Regions from separate parts of the Homo sapiens genome. Here region 1 is linked to region 2. Evidence: promoter capture Hi-C in human tissues and cell types (Jung and others, 2019). All regions are on one chromosome and are shown on one strand. Each heading gives the region's core, a stretch centred on a gene start or on the middle of the fragment in contact. The rest is flanking DNA. Distances are from core to core; before and after follow the strand shown.

Evidence for each region. The method cuts DNA at HindIII sites, captures the fragments that hold promoters and counts their contacts. A contact is called where the count stands out against the background at its distance.
Region 1: a contact is called between a fragment that was not itself captured here and the fragment with the promoter of DCHS1 in region 2, in 1 of the 25 tissues and cell types used here (spleen).

Annotation. Positions count from the first base shown.
Region 1 is chr11:6,301,886-6,306,336 of GRCh38, reverse strand. No RefSeq gene overlaps it. Among named protein-coding and RNA genes, the nearest start is that of CAVIN3, 16 kb to the left of the region's middle. RefSeq lists an enhancer at 2,078-2,796. The HindIII fragment of the contact is 3,077 bases long and covers 288-3,364 here.
Region 2 is chr11:6,652,970-6,657,379 of GRCh38, reverse strand. It overlaps DCHS1 (dachsous cadherin-related 1), which reads left to right and starts at 1,571. Exons shown (of 21, transcript NM_003737.4): 1 at 1,571-1,817. The HindIII fragment of the contact is 6,359 bases long and covers 1-4,410 here.

The sequences.
Region 1 (4,451 bases), core at 577-3,076, 350 kb after region 2:
ATCCTTTTCAACTAGCTGCTAACTTGGCTCTCGACTTCCAAGGTTTATAAACAAGTGAGCCTCAAATATATGGACATGACCATCCACCCTTTATTTCTTCCTGAAATACAGACACAATAAAACCCACACATTTTGCCTAGCAGATTTCAGGTTATACTAATGAGAGGAAAGTAAATAGAAAAAAACAACATTCTAACTCACATTGAACAAAAATCAACTTAAAGCTTACTTGAAGATGGCAGAATACTAAAACTGTAAGGATAATAGAAATACCTAAAACAGGGGAAAAACTTCAAAAACAAGAAGTAACTACAGGCAAAAATTAAAAATAAATATAATAAATTAAAAAGCTTAATAGCATGTTTTAGTCTGTTGTGGTTACTATAAGAAAATACAATAAACTGAGTAGCTTATAAACAACGGAAATTTATTTCTCATACTTCTGGAGACTGGGAAGTCCAAAATCAAGATGCTGGCAGATCCAGCATCTGGTAAGGGTCTGCTCTCTAGTTCACAGATGGTGCTTTTTCTCTATGTCTTCACATGGTAGAAGGGCTGTGGACTCTCTCTTAGGCCTTTCTTATAAGGACATTAATCCCTTTAATTCTCATGATCTAATCTCTAATCACCTCCCAAAGGTGCCACCTTGTAATATCATCACCTTGTCTGTTAAGATTTCAACATATGAGTTTTTGGGGGACACAAACATTCAGATCATAGCACAACTTCAACAAAGAGCAAAGCTACAAAAGCCAAACCCTAGAGGGAATCTCCGCAGTGTGGTAAACACTCACTTAGCAGATTGACTTTTCAGCACTGATTAAAGGAGCAGCCACATATATTCAAATAGAATTATGCTGTACTTTACTGATCCTTGCTCGCTGATTCACAGCGAACTGACCCAGCACTATGCACTCCATCTAAACTAGGTCAATTACCCTCTTTTCTCTAGACCAGTTGTTCTCAACTGCAGGCATACCCTCCACCACCGACCCCAGGGGGGACATTTACCAATGTCTGGAGACACTTTTTAGTGTCACAACTGGCACCTAGTAGACAGACATCGGGGATGTTGTTAAACGTCTTACAATGCACATGATAGTACCTTACAACAAATAATTAGCCTATCCAAAATGTCAATATTGCCAAGATTGGTAAACCTCAACATTTGATTGATGCCTGATGTGACCATTAAACAGACTATTTCTTACATGGGTATCTATAGTTAAGAATTGGTGAAAGATATTCTGCTAGTATGTGATGAAGGGTGAGATGGGGGAGCTTTAAGTTTTACCACTTCTTTTTCTTTTTTTTTTTTTTTAGTTTTACTTATTTTTTAAGTTAGAAGATATTGCCTAGAATTCATAAAAACATTGCAATGATACAGGTTGTAATTCCGGATAAATTGTTTGGTAAAGAGAAAGTTGAGTTTATTATTTTTTTCTTAGTTAGTAATAAACTTATTCTATGCCTCTTTCTCTACAGTACTCAATATAAGAGACTGTGCTGAAGCATTAATGTAACAATATTTATTGTTAGTCAGGATGAATCCCTCACTCACTCTGGAGTCCTGTAATACAGAACAAGCTATTTCTGTTGTGAAGACTCTACAATTCATGCTTCTGCATATGATCCATAATGGAAAAAGATCCAAGTTAATTTAGGATGACCTTCTACCTTGCCAATGATAGCACATCAGACAAACTCCAGGAATGTGTAGAAATATTCTCACAAGGATGTGGTGAAATTTTGTTTTTTGTTTTATTTTCCAAAATACTAGTACTCATTATCAGAACACCTTTCTGTGTCTGTGGTATAATAGAACAGGGTTCTGGAATGTTCCCCCAAAAAGGCACCAGTGAACATATACCATCAGAGCCACCAGCAAAGCAAAATAAAAGGGAGTGAAAGCTTATAAGATTATTTGCAAAGAGTAATTTTTAGGGTAAGACACAAAAGGGTAGGAGTACGTATATATCTGTGTATTTTTCAGAGATATCTTAAAAATTAGTTTTTTAGAGGGTTTAATTTTGTATTTTTAAAAAAATTATAAAAATTTTGTCATTCGTAAGTTATTTACATATATATGCTGCTATCAAATGCACTTGTCACCTGTAGAGAACAACTGATGCCAACACGAAGTTAATAGCAATAGTAAGTGAAAATAGAAAACTGTCACATGGTAGTGTTATTAAGGGGTCTCACCATATCACCATGTCATTAATTTTAATATGGATTTTAATATTTAATATGATACAAATTAGCTTTAACTGTGATTTTCTGCTTTTGATTTAGGTGTGATTAAACAGAAAGGGGGAAGAAACATAGTGTGGATCCGGTGCAGACACACATCATCCCCACAGCGGGAAGTTAAAAAGGGGTTTAATGATGTAGAAAAGGGCATTCAGGTCAGTGCATGCTGACCAGGCTTGTCAGCAGTTTGTCTGAAAGGAACAAGGAGGATTTAAAGTCACAGAGACTCATGTCGGCTTAAGAGTCATGCCTCTCACGAACATCATTGTTATGCAAAGGGCACCTGTACAGCCAAGTCACTGTCCATAGTGCCTGGTTTGGTGATTTGTTCAGTGTAGGCAGGACAAAGCGGAGGGGGCAGAGAAGGCTTCTGCGACAGGGAAAAGTACTAAAATGCTTAGGAGAAGCTGGGTGGTACCTGGGGCCCCTTAAGAGTGATTTGAGGAGGTAGATATACCTCTGGAACAGATTAAGCACTGGCAAAGGCTTATAGATCATTAGGGCTGTTGAATGTTTCCATAAATTTTGTTTCTGTTTAATTTAATACCCCAGAAGGTGGTCAAGAGGGGATATTCAGAGACTCCTGAAAAAAACAGAAGTGAGTCTTGAATATTTTGTTCAACTCTAATGGGTTAAAGAAAAGCCAAACAAATCACTATTCTCATGGTATGGATGGCAGCTGAGTTGTATATAGGAACTCTCCCAGTGTACATTTCAAACATTACAGTAATTCAAAGCTTATTGCAGACATGTTATCAAAGTTAACAAGAACTATTAGAAAGAATAGAGGTAGGCCGGACATGGTGGCTCACGCCTGTAAACCCAGTATTTTGGGAGGCTGAGGTGGGCGGATCACCTGAGGTCAGGGGTTCGAGACCAGTCTGGCCTACATGGTGAAACCACATCTCTACTAAAAATACAAAAATTAGCTGGGCAAGTTGGTGGGCACCTGTAATCCCAGCTACTTGGGAGGCTGAGGCAGAAGAGCCACTTGAACCTGGGAGGCAGATGTTACAGTGAGCCGAGATTGTGCCACTGCACTCCAGCCTGGGTGACAGAGCAAGACTCCATCTCAAAAAAGAAAAAGAAAAAAAAATAGAGTTAAACACAGGACAAAGAAAGCATTTTTCTGGTCAGGTAATGGGCATCAACATGTCCTGTGGACTTCGATTATCTGAGGTTGGGGGTTGGGGATTGAGGTGGCTAACACGATCTACAGTGGGAAGCTCTTGGGCATATGGGCAAAACCTTAGACAGCTACCTCATGGACTCTTTAATCTTCCCTGAAGTTTACAGAAGCTAAGGCTTTTCTGGAAAATAAGGGGAGACTCCTCATATCTTTTAATATGGCTCTGAGCCAGCATTATGTGGGTCCTGGGCCAGCTCTCAAAACAACAGCCCTGAGCAGATAAGGAAAATAAAACACAAGACACTGACCACTTTCAGTATGTTATGCTTCCATTCATCCTTATGGCCCTATATAAGCTTTAATTTTTACCAGAAAGAGAGCTGCCTCTATCACCCCTCTAATGGAGCCTCCTCTCCATCCAAATACTGTGCTATTTGGCCTGCAGTTGAGGGGTTATCTAGCAGGCCGCGCCTTCCAGGGAGGGAAGGGTCTGTCAGGAGCTACTTCCTAGATGGCTTCGCAGTGATCAAAGGAACCAGGGCTGCCTTTGAGTTCAGTGATTGTTGCCCTCCATCCCCCTATGGCTGTAAGAGACTACAACCCTGGAAAACAATCACCTTTGAACAACATTGGAATGGAACTCGGATCAGATCTTGCCATGTGGACAGCCTCGGGTTTTTGGTATATTGCTCATTGCTCATTTGGGTGGCACAGTTACAAAAAAGGACAAAAATGATCAGGAAGCGACAACCCCGAATTTGGGTCTTTTCCGTGTGTACAACTTAACTATTGCCTCTGGAACGACAAGAGGCAGCATATGGATTTTTGCTTTTGTGGGGATGGTTTTACAAGTAATTCCAGTAGGTTACTCTGCTACGGTGCTTGACAGCAGCACCCTGGAGGGCCATACCCCTTCCTCCTTGCTTCCCTGAATATTTGAGATGTGCACAGCCTGCCGAGCAGGTGTGTAAGACTCATTCTCAGGCGGTACTTGTCAGCAGAGGGCTTTTTAGACCCATCAGGAGGATATCTTGCAGGGGCTCTTAGTGGTATTGTGTTTCCAAAAAGA
Region 2 (4,410 bases), core at 322-2,821:
AGGACTCAAATATAAGGTTACTCCCTCTTTCCTGAGGGATGATTTTGGAAAAACAAAAAAGCAAAAACTTCACCCTATATTCAAGCTTATACGGCATTTGCAGATGACTCCCAAATATTTATGTCCATCCCAGACCGCTCCTCTAAGTTGCAGACCTACCTACCCAACCAGCACTTCAAAGTCAGCAGCCCCAAGTCACAGTCATCATCTCCTCATACGAACCCCCTGCAGCCTCCTGCTGCTCCTTTTGTGGAGCACAGCCAGCCTCACCACCATCCATCCACCCAGCTGCCCAAGCGCCGTGGATATGATCAAGGACCCCAGTCTCTCCCTCACTCCTCTTCCAAAATCACACTCCCTTCTTCTTCAGCTGAAACTGTGTTCCTTCTCCACAGAAGTTCCTGATTTCTTTGTGCCATTTGTACACATCTCAAGTCCAGAAAACCTGTTTTTCTCACAGTCTACTCGCAGTCCTAAGGAAGAAGGACAGGAGTCAGAACTCTTCCCAGTTCCTTTAAGATTGCTTGCTCTTTGTCTCTGTCTGATTTCCCCTCTCCCCATATTCTCTCCCAAGTTGGTTTTTTGAGCCCCTTCCCACTTCCCTGCCCGGTTTCCTCCTCACTTAATTTTTCTAGGGAGTATATCGTGAGTGGGACCACCATCCCCAAAGCTCTTCTTTCCAATATCTCCCGATCTCTACCCTCAAATTTGGGATAAAGAGAAAGTGGGGGAAAGGGAGCCTGGGGGTGAAGGAGAGAAAAGAGACAGAAATCATGGGATAATGAAAAGTGACTAACAGGGGAGAAGGCCGAGGTTACGATGGAAGAAGGGGAAGAGACAGCGGGTAGTGAAAAGGGCAGGGGTGAGAAAAGGGAATGAGGAGAAGGCGTGAGGAAAAGGGGATGATGAGGTGAGGCGAAAGACACAGGGAGAAGGGGATGGGGAGAAAGGTGGGGAGAAGAGACGGGGAGAAAGGGATAGGAAGAAAAGGATAAAAGGAGAGGTGGGGAAGGAGAATCTGATGTAAAGAGGCTGGAGAGAGATCAAGCAGAAGGGGTAAGGAGAAGAGAAAGGGGAGAAGAGCTGGGGAGAAAATGATGGAGATGGGGCGAGAAGAAGAGGATGGGAGAAAGGCAGAGGGGAATGGAGATGACGGTTGGGAAAAAGAAGGGGCGAGAGGGAGACCAGGGCACTGAGGGAGAAGAGGGGAATAGGGGATGGAAAGAAGATGGAAGAGGAGGAGGTGAGCAGCAGGGAGCGGCGAGAAGGGGAAGAGACGAGAGGGCGTAGAGAACCGAATGGGAGGAGAGGACGGGAGAAGTGACGGGGAGAAGGGAAGGGAACCGGGACGGGGGCGCGGCGCGGCGCTGGGGCCGGATCCGGAGCCGGGGCCTGGGGCCGGGAAGTGGAGGGGCGGAGGGAGGCCGGGCGGGCGCCGGGGGGAAGGGGGGGCGGCGGCGCGGAGCGCGGGTGGGGGCGGGGGCGGGGGCTCCGCGGGCGGAGGGGCGGGGGCTCGGGTTACCGCGCGGAGGGCGGGGGGAGGGGAGGGGAGGGGGCGCGGGGCCGCGGCAGCGGAGCTCGCATCCTCGGCGGGGCGGCTGTGCAGGAGGCGGCGCCCGGGCGTCAGCGGACGGACCGATCGACGGCCAAGGGCGCGCGGACCGACGGCGGCTGCCCGGAGGGGATCGCGGGCCTCGGAGACAGCGACTGCGGACGATGCGCGGCCTCAGGCCCCGCGCGAGCGGGCGCTGCCCGGGGGGCTGACCGCGGCCGGACGGCGCCCCAGCACCGGGCGAGGGAGCCCGCGTCGCGCGGAGGTCAGTGCCCGCGCCCGCCCGGCCCGTCTGGCCGCGCCCGCCCTGCCCGCCGGCCTCCCCTGGGCTGCGGCAGCGGCGGCGGAGCCGGGGGCTTTGTTCTGAGCCGGAGACAATGGGGGAGGGGGGGCCTGGGCCTGCGGGACCCGGGCGGGCGTGAACGTGAGCGTGGGGGCAGGGCCTGGGGGTCTTTGTGTGCGTGTGTCATCGAGTCGGGGAGGGTGGCGGCGGGAGCGTGCGCCGGGGGTGTGGGGTGCGACAGCGTTGTGTTCCAGTGCATCGTCGGAGTGTGTCAGTGCGTGTCACTGGGAGGTTGTGTGTCCCTGGGCGTCTCTCTGGCTGTGTGTGCATGTGCGTGTCACTCTGAGGGTGTGAGGGTCAGAATGACCGTGTGTCATGGTGAGCGAGTCCCTGTGAGGGTGTGTTGCCCGCTCTGTGGGAGCCCATGTGTCAGAATGTGGAGGATGGGTGTGTGACAGAGACCAACTGAGACAGAGACAAAGAAACTGAGTGGGGAGAAGTACAGAGAAGCAGAGGAGAGGCAGGCACAGCCTGAAGTGGATGGAGGGGGGGGTCACCCAGACGTGTTCTGAGTGGGAGATTGGAGCAACTGGGAGTTTGTGTCTGGGATACCCAGCTCAGAATCCCGTGCAGGGGACAGAGCAAGGTCACCGCAGGCGTGGGTCCCACGTGGAGGGGGTGGGGAGAGGGAGGTCTAGAAGCACAATGAACTCAGTGTGGCGGGCTGGGCCCACAGCCACAAGGTCATAGGCCAGAAAAATATTGTCGCTTATGTCAACTTCTCAAATACCCATAGGGACACAGTCATAGCCCTACTCAACCCACAAGAGGACACAGTCCCAGGGAACACACATCCTCAAGAGATACCCTCACAGCCATCATACACTTCCAGGAAGCCCACCCCCAGGAAGCACCCCCAGTCAGAACCAACACACACCTACAGCAGACTCTATCAAGCCAACACACACCTACGGAAAATGCTCTCATGACAACACACACCCACAGGAGAAATGCTGCAACCAACATACTCCCACCGGTTCATTGTCAAGGCCAACACATACCATGGAAGACATTGTTACTGCTAACACTCTCCAGAAACACTGTCACCAGCAACAAACAAGTAGACCAGCACCTCTCAGGAGACATTGTCACTGCAATCCACATCCATCAGAAGCACTGTCACAACTGTCACAGCACATCTTATTAGGTTTACTTCCTTGGAGCTGCCCATACATAGTGGGTGTCCTAGAAGCCTGTCACTAACAGGAGGCTGTGCCACAGTTGCCCTTACCACACAGCCACTTGTACAACCCCCAGGAGACAGTCATGGATGGCATGCACACCACAGGAAGACCTGTCCCAACTTCTGAATAAACTCTGCTTAACTTATCAAGCTCACACCTTCACCCCTTCTCATACGTAGATCTCCCAGGTATACCCTCTTGTTCCCTGAAAACTTCGAGATCTGGATAGTGTATCCTGCCATGGTTTCTCAGTGTCCTTCAACACCACAGCTTCACAGATTCTTGACCTCCTTAGCTCCTGTTACCTTCCTCCCTCCCAGGACCACTCTGTAGAACTATTCCACCTTTAAAATTCTAAACTCTTGCATTCCTCTCTCTACCCACAACCTCCTATATCCTTCCAGCTTTCAGATGTTCTCGCTCCCATTACACTCTTTGACCTCATAATGACCTCTTGCCCTTGACCTCTTTGTTTTCTCCTACTCTGTTCCTTTCTGACTTTGTGCTTTCTTTCCAGCTCATATGCTAAGGATCATCCCTTCAACCACTCCTTGGCCACTGTGTTTCCTTGTCTTCTATACTCATCCCTCAAATTATTGCCCCTAACTAGAATGATTTCTCAACCACACCAGGGGACGCTTCTATAAATTCATACTTCTAAAAAATTCAAACCTCAACTGGGCCCTTCATAAATAAATAGATGATTTTTTTTCTATTTTCTTCACACTCATTACCCCACATCCCTCACACCATTGTTTTCAGTAGATTAATTAATCAAAACGCTAATTCATTCATTTAACAAACACATACTAGGCACCTACTCTGCTAGGCATTGTGATGAGAGTTGGCAGCACAAGTGTGAACAAAATGGACATGGTCCTTATCCTCATGGAGCTTACAGGCTGTGGAGTGAGTGTTGTAACACAGCAGCACACAGCAGAGTAACCTAGGCCAGTGTAGGGAGGTCAGAAGAGTCTTTCTGGAGGAAGTGGCATTTAAACTTAAACTTGATGGAGTGGGTGGAGAATATGCCAAGCCAAGGGAGCAGCATGTAAAAGCCCACATGAAGGAAAATAGTGTGTGTGTGAGGGATAAAGCAGTTCAGTGAGCCTGACACTTACAGCATGAGGTGACGAGAGAGGGAGAGTCTGTGGGAGAGGTAAATGGAGGCTTAGACCATGCAGGGTCTAGGAGGCCACAGAAAGAAATTCATTTAACCCAAGAATAATGGAGAGTCACCAAATCATTGGAAGCTTGGAGCGATATGATCAGATTCATTTTAGAAATACCACTCTGACAGCCATGTGGAGACTGGAGAAAGAGCCTGAGAA